3 separate regions of the Homo sapiens genome follow, and all the other regions are linked to region 1. The links are contacts of gene promoters, found by promoter capture Hi-C in blood cells and fetal thymus (Javierre and others, 2016). All regions are on one chromosome and are shown on one strand. Each heading gives the region's core, a stretch centred on a gene start or on the middle of the fragment in contact. The rest is flanking DNA. Distances are from core to core; before and after follow the strand shown.

Region 1 (3,667 bases), core at 841-3,340:
GCTTCTGTTTAGGATTTCTGTGTCTTCGCTTGAGAAAGTCTAAGTACTTGTAGACATAGAGGAGATGATGTGTCCCACTGGATGTGTGTTGAGGAATCCATTTGTGGGCATAATAGTGCTAAACAGTGGTTACATACGGACTGATATGAAGCCCGGGAATAGTTGAAAATTGGGTGAATCAGAAATGGAATACAATCATATTTTTATATGGTTTCTAGCTCTCCTCTCTCCTGCCTTAAATATCTTGACCTCATTCTGGCTGTCTCACTACTAAATAGGCAAATTTACTTTTAGCAAGGCTGCTTCTGTTAAGACTGTGCCTCCATCTCCTGGACAAATTTGGAATAGCAAGAAATTTGTTAGGAAAGGGACTTTTCCAGGCAGCAGCCGCTTAGAGCTGGCCGCTTCTGAGCATGTTCGTCTTCCCAGGCCTGGCTCACATTTTCAGTGCTTAATGCGCATGGCGCTTTATGCGCAATATTACTTAATTCTTCCCTCAGCCATTGGGAGCTAAGGACAAACTGTTATCCCAATTTTACAGGTGAGGAAATCAGAGCTTATTTAAATAAATTGCCGAGGTCACACAACTAGTAAGCGACAAAATCTCAGTCAAACCGAGGCTCTTTTGGTTCAAAGATGTGTATTGAGCTCTACTCTGCTCTGCAGGGACAGAACTAAGTATGTTTGCTATTCAGGGGATACACAGTCATTCCATGAGCAAGTTACACAATGTAAAATAAGGACATTGTGAAAAACAAAACCATACCGTACATAATGCACTTTATAGTAAAGTACTGGGAACAGAGTATTTGGTAAATTGTAACTATAATAATAATTTTAAACAGATCCACAAATCACACTTATTATTATATTCTGTTTCACCCGGGCTTTGCCAAGCTTCCCACATTTGTACTAGATCCTCTTGGCTTTAGTTTCTCCCCAGTTCTCTACCCTTTGAATTCACTCCAAAGCTTCCCTAGAATCTTTGCTCTCCTAGAAATTAGATTAAACAGGCACCTGCTCACATCATACATCCCCTGCCCTTGTCACCAGACATGCACACATCCATCTTCTGGGATTTCCGTTCTCTTGCAGAAAAGTCTGCATGGGAAGCTGAGGCAGAACCAAGTCCACCAGACTCCGAGGAAAGAGAAGTCTGGACCCTGTAACCAGATAAAAGTGAAACCAGGACTTCATTTATTCCACAAATACTTTTTGACTACCTATAGATGACAGGCACTGTTCAAGGCATTGAGGTTCCCACAGTGAACAAAAGAGACAAAAACGTCTGCCTTTGTGAGTTTATATCATAGTGGAAGGAAATAGACAATAAAAATAAGTAAAATATAGACATTGGTATGTAGATGGTGATAAATGATAAGGAGAAATATAAAGACAGATCGGAAGTGACAACAGTGGGGAAGTGGAATTGGTATCTGCATTTAACGTTGTTTTTTAACAGCAAATTCAGGATGGGGCAGAGAGCAGTGAGAAAAATGAGGCCCTTATGCTCAGCGCCCCCAACCCCGCCTCGGTGGGGTCACTATTCATTTTGGAACATTGCCCTTGGGACCAACATATTCTCAGTGGTCCTTGTGAAGGTTTCCACCCTAAGTCCCTCATCCTCACCAGGCAATATTCATTACCCTACAGCAAACTCCGGAGGCAACGCGGAGAAAGTGTGAATCAATTCAAGACTAAGGTTGCCAAAATGTTTGATCAGCTCTGCGTCAGCCTTGACATTACATTACATTACAGATCCCCTGATCGCCACCGTCGCAGAAGCTCTGAATTAAAAGCGTGCATGTAGCTGCACATCCATTGCTGGCACTTCTTCCGTTAGCCTCCGCTGGAACTGGTTAGTGAGGACCCCTCCATTTCACAAGACAGCTTCGGTTTTGCTTCGTTTTGACTTCCGCACCCCGAAGCTGTAGCACCAGTTTGTTTTCTCACGGCACAGGGGCGGCTTCCGGGGCGCGGCGTGCTGGGGGTTGTAGTCCGCGCTCTGCCTCCTACTTCCATTACAGAAGGCGATGGGCCGAGAGCTGAGGAACTACAACTCCTAGAGTACTCCGCGCCGCCGGGACGCCGCGCGGCTGCGGGGCTGGGCGAGCGCAAAGATGTCCGCGCCCGCTGCCGGGAGGCGAGGTGAGTCTTTGATCGTAACCAGGAGCCCGGAGCTGAGGCAGTTCCTGCACGTGTCGCGGGGCCGGAGAAGCTAGGGCCAGGTATTCCAGGGATGCAAGAATCCTGCAAATCTGACGTGTAAACTGCTTCCCCAGCCTCCAGGCGAGCCCAGCTTTTGCCTCAGATAGGCCCCTTCCTTTTCCTTCTCGGGGAATCGACCTCGGGAAGGGGTGTGGGCAAAGAGATGAGGACTCTCCCTCTTCGCCCAGGCCAACTCGGGATATCCCGGAGCCTCTGGGGAGGCGGTCACTCCGACGTCTGAGGACCTGGGCCTTGGACCCGGACTCGTTATGAAGAGCGATTCTTCGACCTCTGCAGCCCCCCTCAGGGGGCTCGGGGGACCCCTGCGCAGCAGCGAGCCGGTGCGCGCGGTCCCGGCCCGGGCGCCGGCCGTGGACCTTCTGGAGGAGGCGGCCGACCTCCTGGTGGTGCACCTGGACTTCCGGGCGGCGCTGGAGACCTGCGAGCGGGCCTGGCAGAGTCTGGCCAACCACGCCGTGGCAGAGGAACCCGCGGGCACGTACGTGCTGGGCTCGGAAATGAACCGATTTCCGGGCGCTCTTGTGGTGGGGCTCAAGGTCTCAGGAGTTCTGTCCTTCCCAGATTGCCCACAAGGAGCTTTACACCTCGCTTTCATCAGTGGTTTGTCTCCGAGAGGGTGGTCGCTCATCGTGTGCCCATTCTACAGAGAAGGGAAGTCGTGTAACAAAAACTTAGTGGGGATCCCACAGCCAATTATTTGCTCCTTGTTCCAAGGTACAATGACATGATGGGAAGGCTGAATGTGTATTAAGTGCTAAGTTCTGTCAGTAAGCAGGTGGTAAAAGTCCTCTCCCAGGTACCTCCGCCCTCCCCGCCCCGCCCAAGGTTGTTTATTCCTGACCTTGGCTGATGATGGGGAATGGGGGTCATGGCAGGAGCAGCGTTCTGGTCCAATTAGAGGACTGGATTAAAGAATTAATTCAGGGCCGGGAGCTGGGGCTTACGCCTGTAATCCCAGCACTTTGGGAGGCCGAGGCAGGAGGATTGCTTGAGCCCAGGAGTTCGAGACCAGCCTGGGTAACATAATGAGCCCTCTTCTCTACCAAAAAGAAGAAAAAGAAAAGAATCCGGAGAAAAAAACCTTGGGCTTGCATTGCTCTTTCTAATGCCACCAGCCTCGTCTGGCAGGTGAGGGAGTCATTTCTTTGCATTGTAAACTTGGGTTAGGCCACGCTAGGGAGGTGGTAGGTAGAATAGCTAAAGTTGACCACAAAGAAGGATGATCTGGAGAGCCCTGGCTGTGTTTTAGGGGACTGGGTGGGAGCTCATTTCAGTGAATGCAGAAGGCTTTGCTTCTGGGTGTCTGGAGGAACCTTACTAGGTGGTGCCTTTTAGCCAGCTATGGAGTCTATACCTCCACTCAGCCAGAAACCTTGCTCCAAGCCCATTTGTTCACAGAGCAAACTCTTAGTTCCAGCTCTCTTTTCAGCCACACACC
Region 2 (3,409 bases), core at 552-3,051, 200 kb before region 1:
GCTTCCGTTTTGCTTTTAACTGTCCTTCCCTCATGCTTGCAGCAGAGCACACCCTGGAACGCGGTCCCGCAGCTGTGGGCCGCCCGGCACAGCCTCGGCCTCCCTCTGAATGGGTAAGGCAGCCTGCAGGAAGGGCAGGGGGATGGCTTGTCGACTCACATGCTCTGTGCTCTGCCAAGCAACCCCCGGCCTGAGCTGGGATTTCTCCAGGGCAAAAAGATTCTCCCGCCACCCTATCACTCCATTGGCCTTAGAAGTAGCAGGCAGCGGAGACAGCAAATCTAGAGTGAAGCTCGCTCCTTCTACAGAAGGGCCAGGAATGCAGCATCTCTTCCTTCCACTTAGTGCTCAGAGAGGCTCTGCTTGCCAAAGAGCCAGCTGAATCCCAAGCAAAGATGAGGAGAAAAGACTTGAGCCCAAATCCTCTGCAGACTGCACATAGCACACGTAACAAAACTGGGCAAGGGTCTCCCTTAGCCGTGGGCCCATGCAGCTAGGAACCCAGTCCCCAGAGATTGAGGCAGTGACCGAAAGCTTTGGCAACCAATAACTGCTTCATTTCCCACCAGGTTCAGAATGAACTATTTACAGGTGGGAAGGACAGCATTAAGTCATGATGCTAGAAAGCCCTCTGCTCCTCCAGCTCCAAGCCAGATTGGTCACACTCCCTACCTCAGCCACGTGCACTTCATAGCTCCGTGGGGTGGCGACATAGACTGGCAGTTACCTGGTACTTCAACACCCTCTGCTTGAGACACTCAGCCAGCTCCTTGGCCCTGGGCTCAGCAACACAGGCCCCAGAGGGAGCTGGAGAGGATGGCTGTAAGCACCGCCCCTCAGAAGGAAGCAAGAGGGAGACTCAGTAGCCCCCTGGGGGGCAGAGCAGTCAGAGCCAAGGGGAGGAGTGGGGGACTGGGTAGGACTGGGTAGAGGTGGGGCAGAGAGGGCAAGTACACATGCAGGGTTATGGAGGTTAGGGAGGTTATGGAGGTTAGGGAGCTTATGGAGGTTAGGGAGGTTAAGGAGGTTAGGGAAGTTATGGAGGTTAGGGAGGTTAGGGAAGTTATGGAGGTTAGGGAGGTTAGGGAGGTTATGGAGGTTAGGGAGGTTAGGGAGGTTATGGAGGTTAGGGAGGTTAGGGAGGTTAGGGAGGTTATGGAGGTTAGGGAGGTTAGGGAGGTTATGGAGGTTAGGGAGGTTAGGGAGGTTATGGAGGTTATGGAGGTTAGGGAGGTTATGGAGGTTAGGGAGGTTAGGGAGGTGAGGGAGGTTATGGAGGTTATGGAGGTTATGGAGGTTAGGGAGGTTATGGAGGTTAGGGAGGTTATGGAGGTTAGGGAAGTTATGGAGGTTATGGAGGTTAGGGAGGTTATGGAGGTTAGGGAGGTTATGGAGGTTAGGGAGGTTATGGAGGTTAGGGAGGTTATGGAGGTTAGGGAGGTTAGGGAAGTTATGGAGGTTAGGGAGGTTATGGAGGTTATGGAGGTTAGGGAGGTTATGGAGGTTAGGGAGGTTAGGGAGGTTAGGGAAGTTATGGAGGTTAGGGAGGTTATGGAGGTTAGGGAGGTTATGGAGGTTAGGGAGGTTAGGGAGGTTATGGAGGTTAGGGAGGTTAGGGAGGTTATGGAGGTTAGGGAGGTGAGGGAGGTTATGGAGGTTAGGGAGGTTAGGGAAGTTATGGAGGTTAGGGAGATTATGGAGGTGAGGGAGGTTATGGAGGTTAGGGAGATTATGGAGGTTAGGGAGGTTATGGAGGTTAGGGAGGTTATGGAGGTTAGGGAGGTTAGGGAGGTGAGGGAGGTTATGGAGGTGAGGGAGGTTATGGAGGTTAGGGAGGTTAGGGAAGTTATGGAGGTTAGGGAGGTTATGGAGGATGGCAGCAGAGTCCAAGAAAAGAACTTAAGTAGTGTCCTCAAAAGTATCCAGCCTGGAGCCCTGCACTGAGGAGTGCAGAAACCAGTTCAGAGGGAAAAAGAGAGAAACATCTCTGCAAGCCTTATTGCCTCCTGAGCTCAAAAACCCTAACTCATCCCCTCTCTGCACCACAGCCCTAAACTTCAAATTGTTTCTCACTGCCAATCTCTCCTATTCAACATGCTCCCCTCCCTTCTTCTTTTTTTTGAGACCGAGTCTGATTCTGTCGCCCTGGCTCTGTCGCCCAGGCTGGAGTGCAGTGGCGCGATCTTGGCTCACTGCAAGCTCTGCCTCCTGGGTTGATGCCATTCTCCTGCCTCAGCCTCCCCAGTGGCGGAGACTACAGGCACCCGCCACCATGCCTGGCTAATTTTTTTGTATTTTCAGTAGAGACAGGTTTTCACTGTGTTAGCCAGGATGGTCTCGATCTCCTGACCTCGTGATCTGCCTGCCTCGGCCTCCCAAAGTGCTGGGATTACAGGCCTGAGCCACCGCACCCGGCCTTCCCCTCCCTTCTTCTTTTAGGCGCTGTTTCATTAAACATTATCAGCATCTCATTAAATACACAATCTGCAAAATGGAGGGCACTGCCCTGCTCAGTGAAAAGGGCTGCTTTCCTTTTTGAGGGGACACAGCCTGGGAAGAAGAGAGAAAGAGGCTGGGCACACAGCGCCGTGGGAGAGCAGCCCCAGAAAGGGTGAGCACCGTGGGGCGAGGCCATGGAAAGGGGGTGGGAAAGACCCCCACCTCCAGCCCAGTCTCCACTCTCCGACCCAGCACCAGGTTCAGGCAGCACACACATTGCCCGCTGCTAGCCTGGTGAGAGGGCGCAGGAAGATGGCACTATGATTAGCTCCTATCGGGTCCGAGGGGTAACCTAATTTACTGCTTGGCCATAACTGCATTTCTCAGAGAGCAAAGGCAGAAGGGAGTTAGAAACCAAAATGGCTTTTGTGAGATTAACAACTAGAGATGATTCTTCCCGCTAGCTGCAGAGCTGTACCCACTTGGAGATCTTTAAGGGTAGGAATAACAAGAACAAAAGTTTCATAAAGTAAGCCGGCTTCTTTAACTGGGCATCTCGGCTATCCCTCACATTGTACGATGGCCAGCTGCAATCAGTAATTTCTCCCCTCAGTGTTTCAGAAAAGACTAAAGCTTTCCACGGGTACAGCCCCATTTTGCCATCACCTACCTTTCTCCCCCTCATTCTCATCCCACTGGAAAAATCCTCACGCTGGTAAGAGCTTTGGCTCTCTTAGGATTTCCACTTCAAGATCCGTGACTGCTGAATGCCACTTGAATACTGATTTAGACCCTCTCCCTAAGAAGTTGTATCTGACAGTCCAATGCTACTACTCTACCACTGGCACATAGTTTGGGGGTAGAAATAGTATGGTCTTGGAAGGGGAACAGTGGGCAGAAATGGGAAGTCATTAAGGCCCTTTACAATACGCACATTTAGGATCAGCATCCCATCTGAATGCCAGATGGG
Region 3 (3,596 bases), core at 674-3,173, 240 kb before region 1:
TGCAACCTCCGCCTCCCAGGTTCAAGCAATTCTCATGCCTTACCCTCCCAAGTAGCTGGGATTACAGGTGTGCACCACCATGCCCAGCTAATTTTTGTATTTTTAGTAGAGACAGGGTTTCATTATGTTGGCCAGGCTGGTCTTGAACTCCTGACCTTAAGTGATGTGCCCACCTTGGCCTCCCAAAGTGCTGGGATTACAGGCATGAGCCACTGCGCCCAGCATGAATGCTAGTTTTAAAATCTTTTTTTAACTTCAATCTGAGTAAGATGAGGCATGTATTGCATTGCATAGATGCTGACTGATTTCATGTTTTCTGTGCTGCCCTCCTGTCATACCTGCCATAAATGCCAGGGGTTAGCCTTCCTGGAATGTCCTTGCTACATTACATGAACTTGCTGCCCCACTGCCTCTCACAATTTATAAATTACAGTGGAGAAAATGGTGCTGACCCACACTCAGCCCAAGGTCAAGCCAGTAGCTCTGCTCAAGGGTTTATAAATGTGTTTTGACACACAGCATCTCTCACCCTCACTGCAGGGTCAGTGGAGAGAGAGAGTGGGCTCCCCCTCATCTGGGCACAGTGGGGAGAGTGGGGCCTCCATGGGTGCTCTGGATAGGGAAGCAGAGTTCTGGATGAGGATGCACCATCAGTGACAGCTTTGGAACTGCAGACACCAAGGCAGAGGCTGCCCCCGGCATGCACGGAGGAGCGGTCTGTGAGGCAGCCCAAGAATGAATCTAGGCAGAGGGTGTCTGACATGAGGGCTGAGGTGGCGGGTGCAGCTGAAAGCAGCTCGGCCCAGCAAACACCTTCTGGAAAGCGTTCTTGGACCTTAAAAAAACTGCTCTGCTCTCCTTATCCCCACATGTTCCCTTCATCATGGCTAAATCAAGGTGTGTGATTCAAATGCTCTCCAAGGCCACTTGAGGCCTCTGCCCCTCGGGTTTGCAGCCTGTGTTTCTGTCCTGAAGCCCCACAGGACACCGGACCCCCTTTTGATTCTTGGCTCTCTTGATCATCTGTAATCGGCTGAACACTTTGAAGCCTTCGCTGATACTGGAAGCCCTGGGGTGCAGGGCAGTGGATATAGGGAGTCCTAGGGTTATAGCATGCACATCCCCAAAGGTGTCACCCAGCTGGATGTGATTACAGCTCTGGAACTGCCTAAGCATGCATCCACTGGTGCTGCATGCGGCCCCTGGGGCACACATTTTCAGTCCCTTTCTTTACCTACAGGAGAAAAAAAGATGCCTGGGGGACGGACTAGGCCTCCCTCAAGACGGCCCGGTGCACTGGTGGCTGAATCACCCAGAGTCCCTCCCCGTGTGCCCGTCCTTCCCTCTGCTGAATCTGTGAATAACCCGGGGGCAGAGCCTGCCACTTTCCTTCCCAATGACAGACTTGGAGCTGGGGACATGTCAGGTCCTCAAGGAATAAATACTTCCTGAATCTCTGAATTGAGTCTGATGGAGGAGTCCTCACTGACTAGAAGATGAGGCTAAGAACCTAAAAGGGACTGGGGAGAATGGACTGCGGGCAGCAGGAAAGACAGGAGGCCTCCCTTCACTGAGAAGAAACCGAGACACACAGAGGTGAGGAGGCTCTTAGGGCCGTGTGGCGGGTGGGCGCCCTGCAGCCCTGCGTGCTGACCTGCTGGCGACGTCCTCCTCGGCGCCCGTGTCCAGCACGCTGCTCAGGTTGTGCTCGGCCTGAGTCTCCTCCGGTACCTCCTGCAGTGCCTCAGCCTGCCTCAGGGACAGGCGGTAGTTCTCCAGCTCGATCCGCTCTGGGGTGCCCCTCAGTCGCTTGGCGATGCTGGGCTCCTCCAGGCCGTTCACGCCTGAACCTGCGGGACAAGCACAGAAGCACTGCACTGAGGTCCAACCACAGACGGGGCGTGGGGGTGGGGGCTGACACCCAGGCTGCAGGCCCTCCTGCCAGAATGTGGGGCAGGACAAAGGTCAGAGCATTTGCAGAGTTGCCAGAGGCCAGAGAAGGACCCTGGCATGTGAGAGGGAATTTCACTCTGCAGGAGAAAGGAAGGTGGCCCTGTCTGCCCTCCAGGTCAGAGCGTTCTCTCTCCTTCATCACCCTGAACCCGGCCCCCAGAGGGGAGACGCAGTCTCCCCACAAGAGTGACTGGTGGTGAGGGGTGTGGGCCAGACCGCAGGCAGCCAGGAGCCAGGTGCCCCTGAAGCAGCCTTGCCTGAGAAGGGCATCCCCGGTGCAGTCTGCCCCAGGGATCCAGGCCCCCACCAGGTGCCTCCCCCAATGCCTGCCCCGGGATCCAAGTCCCCACCAGGCACGTGCCCCACCACTGAGGGGGCCTGGCCAGCTGCCTGAAGAACGTCTCATGCTGCGGATCTGTCTCCTCACAGTTAGATAAGGCACTTTCGGTTTCATAAGGCCACGTGGGCGATGCTGCCCCTACCGCAGCACCGCTGCTCAGAGGAAGGACACCAGGCCCGACCGCTCACAGAGGTGGCACCCAGGCCTCTCTGCGATGCACAGGCACACTTCCCCATCAGTCCTCCGTGGGCTTCTGAAGCCACGGGGTGCCCTGCCTGCGTCCTTTCACCCTGTGGTTTCAGCATCGTCGGCGATCTTGGCCGGAGTCCTTTGTGTGCACAGGGCGTCACACCAGGTGATTTTAAAATCCCATCACTCTGGCTGGGTGCGGTGGCTCACGCCTGTAATCCCAGCACTTGGGGAGGCCGATGCAGGTGGATCACGAGGTCAGCAGATCAAGGCCATCCTGGCTAACACAGTGAGACCCCATCTCTACTAAAAATACAAAAAATTAACCAGGCACGGTGGCGGGCGCCTGTAGTCCCAGCTACTCGGGAGGCTGAAGCAGGAGAATGGTGTGAACCTGGGAGGCGGAGCTTGCAGTGAACCGAGATTGCGCCACTGCACTCCAGCCTGGGTGACAAAGCGAGACTTCATCTCAAAAAAAAAAAAAAAAAAAAAAATCCCATCACTCCTCCTCCACTACCATTCTTTGGTAAAGAAGCACTTTTCCCATTTTTAACTTTATACTTTCAAGTACTGCTATGGACTCGGATTTTTGAAAATGTGTTTTACAACTGTGCTTTGGTCTCCTTTAACATGGAACAGTTCTGCTGCCTCCCTTATCATCACCACTATTCTCTGTTGACGTCCCTTGTCCTCCTGATCCTGGTCAGAGGAGGCTGTCATGAGTCCTCTGGTGTGTCCCCTGTAATGTGAGTAGCACCGGGTCCAGGTGGAGGCGGGCAACCCCAGGTCAGATTTCCTCATCTTCCAGATGCCTGGCTCCACCAGTAGTTGGCTGAAGGGTCTTAGAAAATTTACAGAACTCCTCAGAGCTCGTTTCCTGATAGATAAATGATGGCACCACCCACCTCCCAGAGCCGTCATGGACACCGAGTGACACGATGCACACATACTCATGTGGGGGTGCGTGTTGACCCTGCACCCCACACACACGGTCACCTTCCTCTTCCACTTAACGCCTGCCACCTGGGGAGTGCCCAGGAAACATGAGTGAAGCAGCAAGTCTGGTGTCCAGTAATATTTCCCCACCACTGTGTGCATACTCCTGGAAAGCTGC

What was found. The method cuts DNA at HindIII sites, captures the fragments that hold promoters and counts their contacts. A CHiCAGO score of 5 or more calls a contact.
Region 2: a contact is called between a fragment that was not itself captured here and the fragment with the promoter of PEX26 in region 1, in 7 of 17 cell types (total B cells, naive B cells, M1 macrophages and 4 more). The highest score is 12.3, in total B cells.
Region 3: a contact is called between a fragment that was not itself captured here and the fragment with the promoter of PEX26 in region 1, in 16 of 17 cell types (total CD8 T cells, naive CD8 T cells, megakaryocytes and 13 more). The highest score is 24.8, in total CD8 T cells.

The regions. Positions count from the first base shown.
Region 1 is chr22:18,075,900-18,079,566 of GRCh38, forward strand. PEX26 (peroxisomal biogenesis factor 26) reads left to right here and starts at 2,091. Exons shown (of 5, transcript NM_001127649.3): 1 at 2,091-2,707. The coding sequence starts at 2,478. LOC105372853 (a long non-coding RNA gene) reads left to right here. Exons shown (of 6, transcript XR_001755424.2): 6 at 1,759-1,997. RefSeq lists enhancers at 1,765-1,824, 2,155-2,384, 2,865-2,914 and a silencer at 2,455-2,504. The HindIII fragment of the contact is 13,258 bases long and covers 970-3,667 here.
Region 2 is chr22:17,875,736-17,879,144 of GRCh38, forward strand. The region is part of intron 16 of MICAL3 (microtubule associated monooxygenase, calponin and LIM domain containing 3); the gene reads right to left. Among named protein-coding and RNA genes, the nearest start is that of LINC00528, 100 kb to the left of the region's middle. The HindIII fragment of the contact is 2,538 bases long and covers 533-3,070 here.
Region 3 is chr22:17,840,168-17,843,763 of GRCh38, forward strand. MICAL3 (microtubule associated monooxygenase, calponin and LIM domain containing 3) reads right to left here. Exons shown (of 32, transcript NM_015241.3): 20 at 1,655-1,850. Among named protein-coding and RNA genes, the nearest start is that of LINC00528, 65 kb to the left of the region's middle. The HindIII fragment of the contact is 7,527 bases long and covers 1-3,596 here.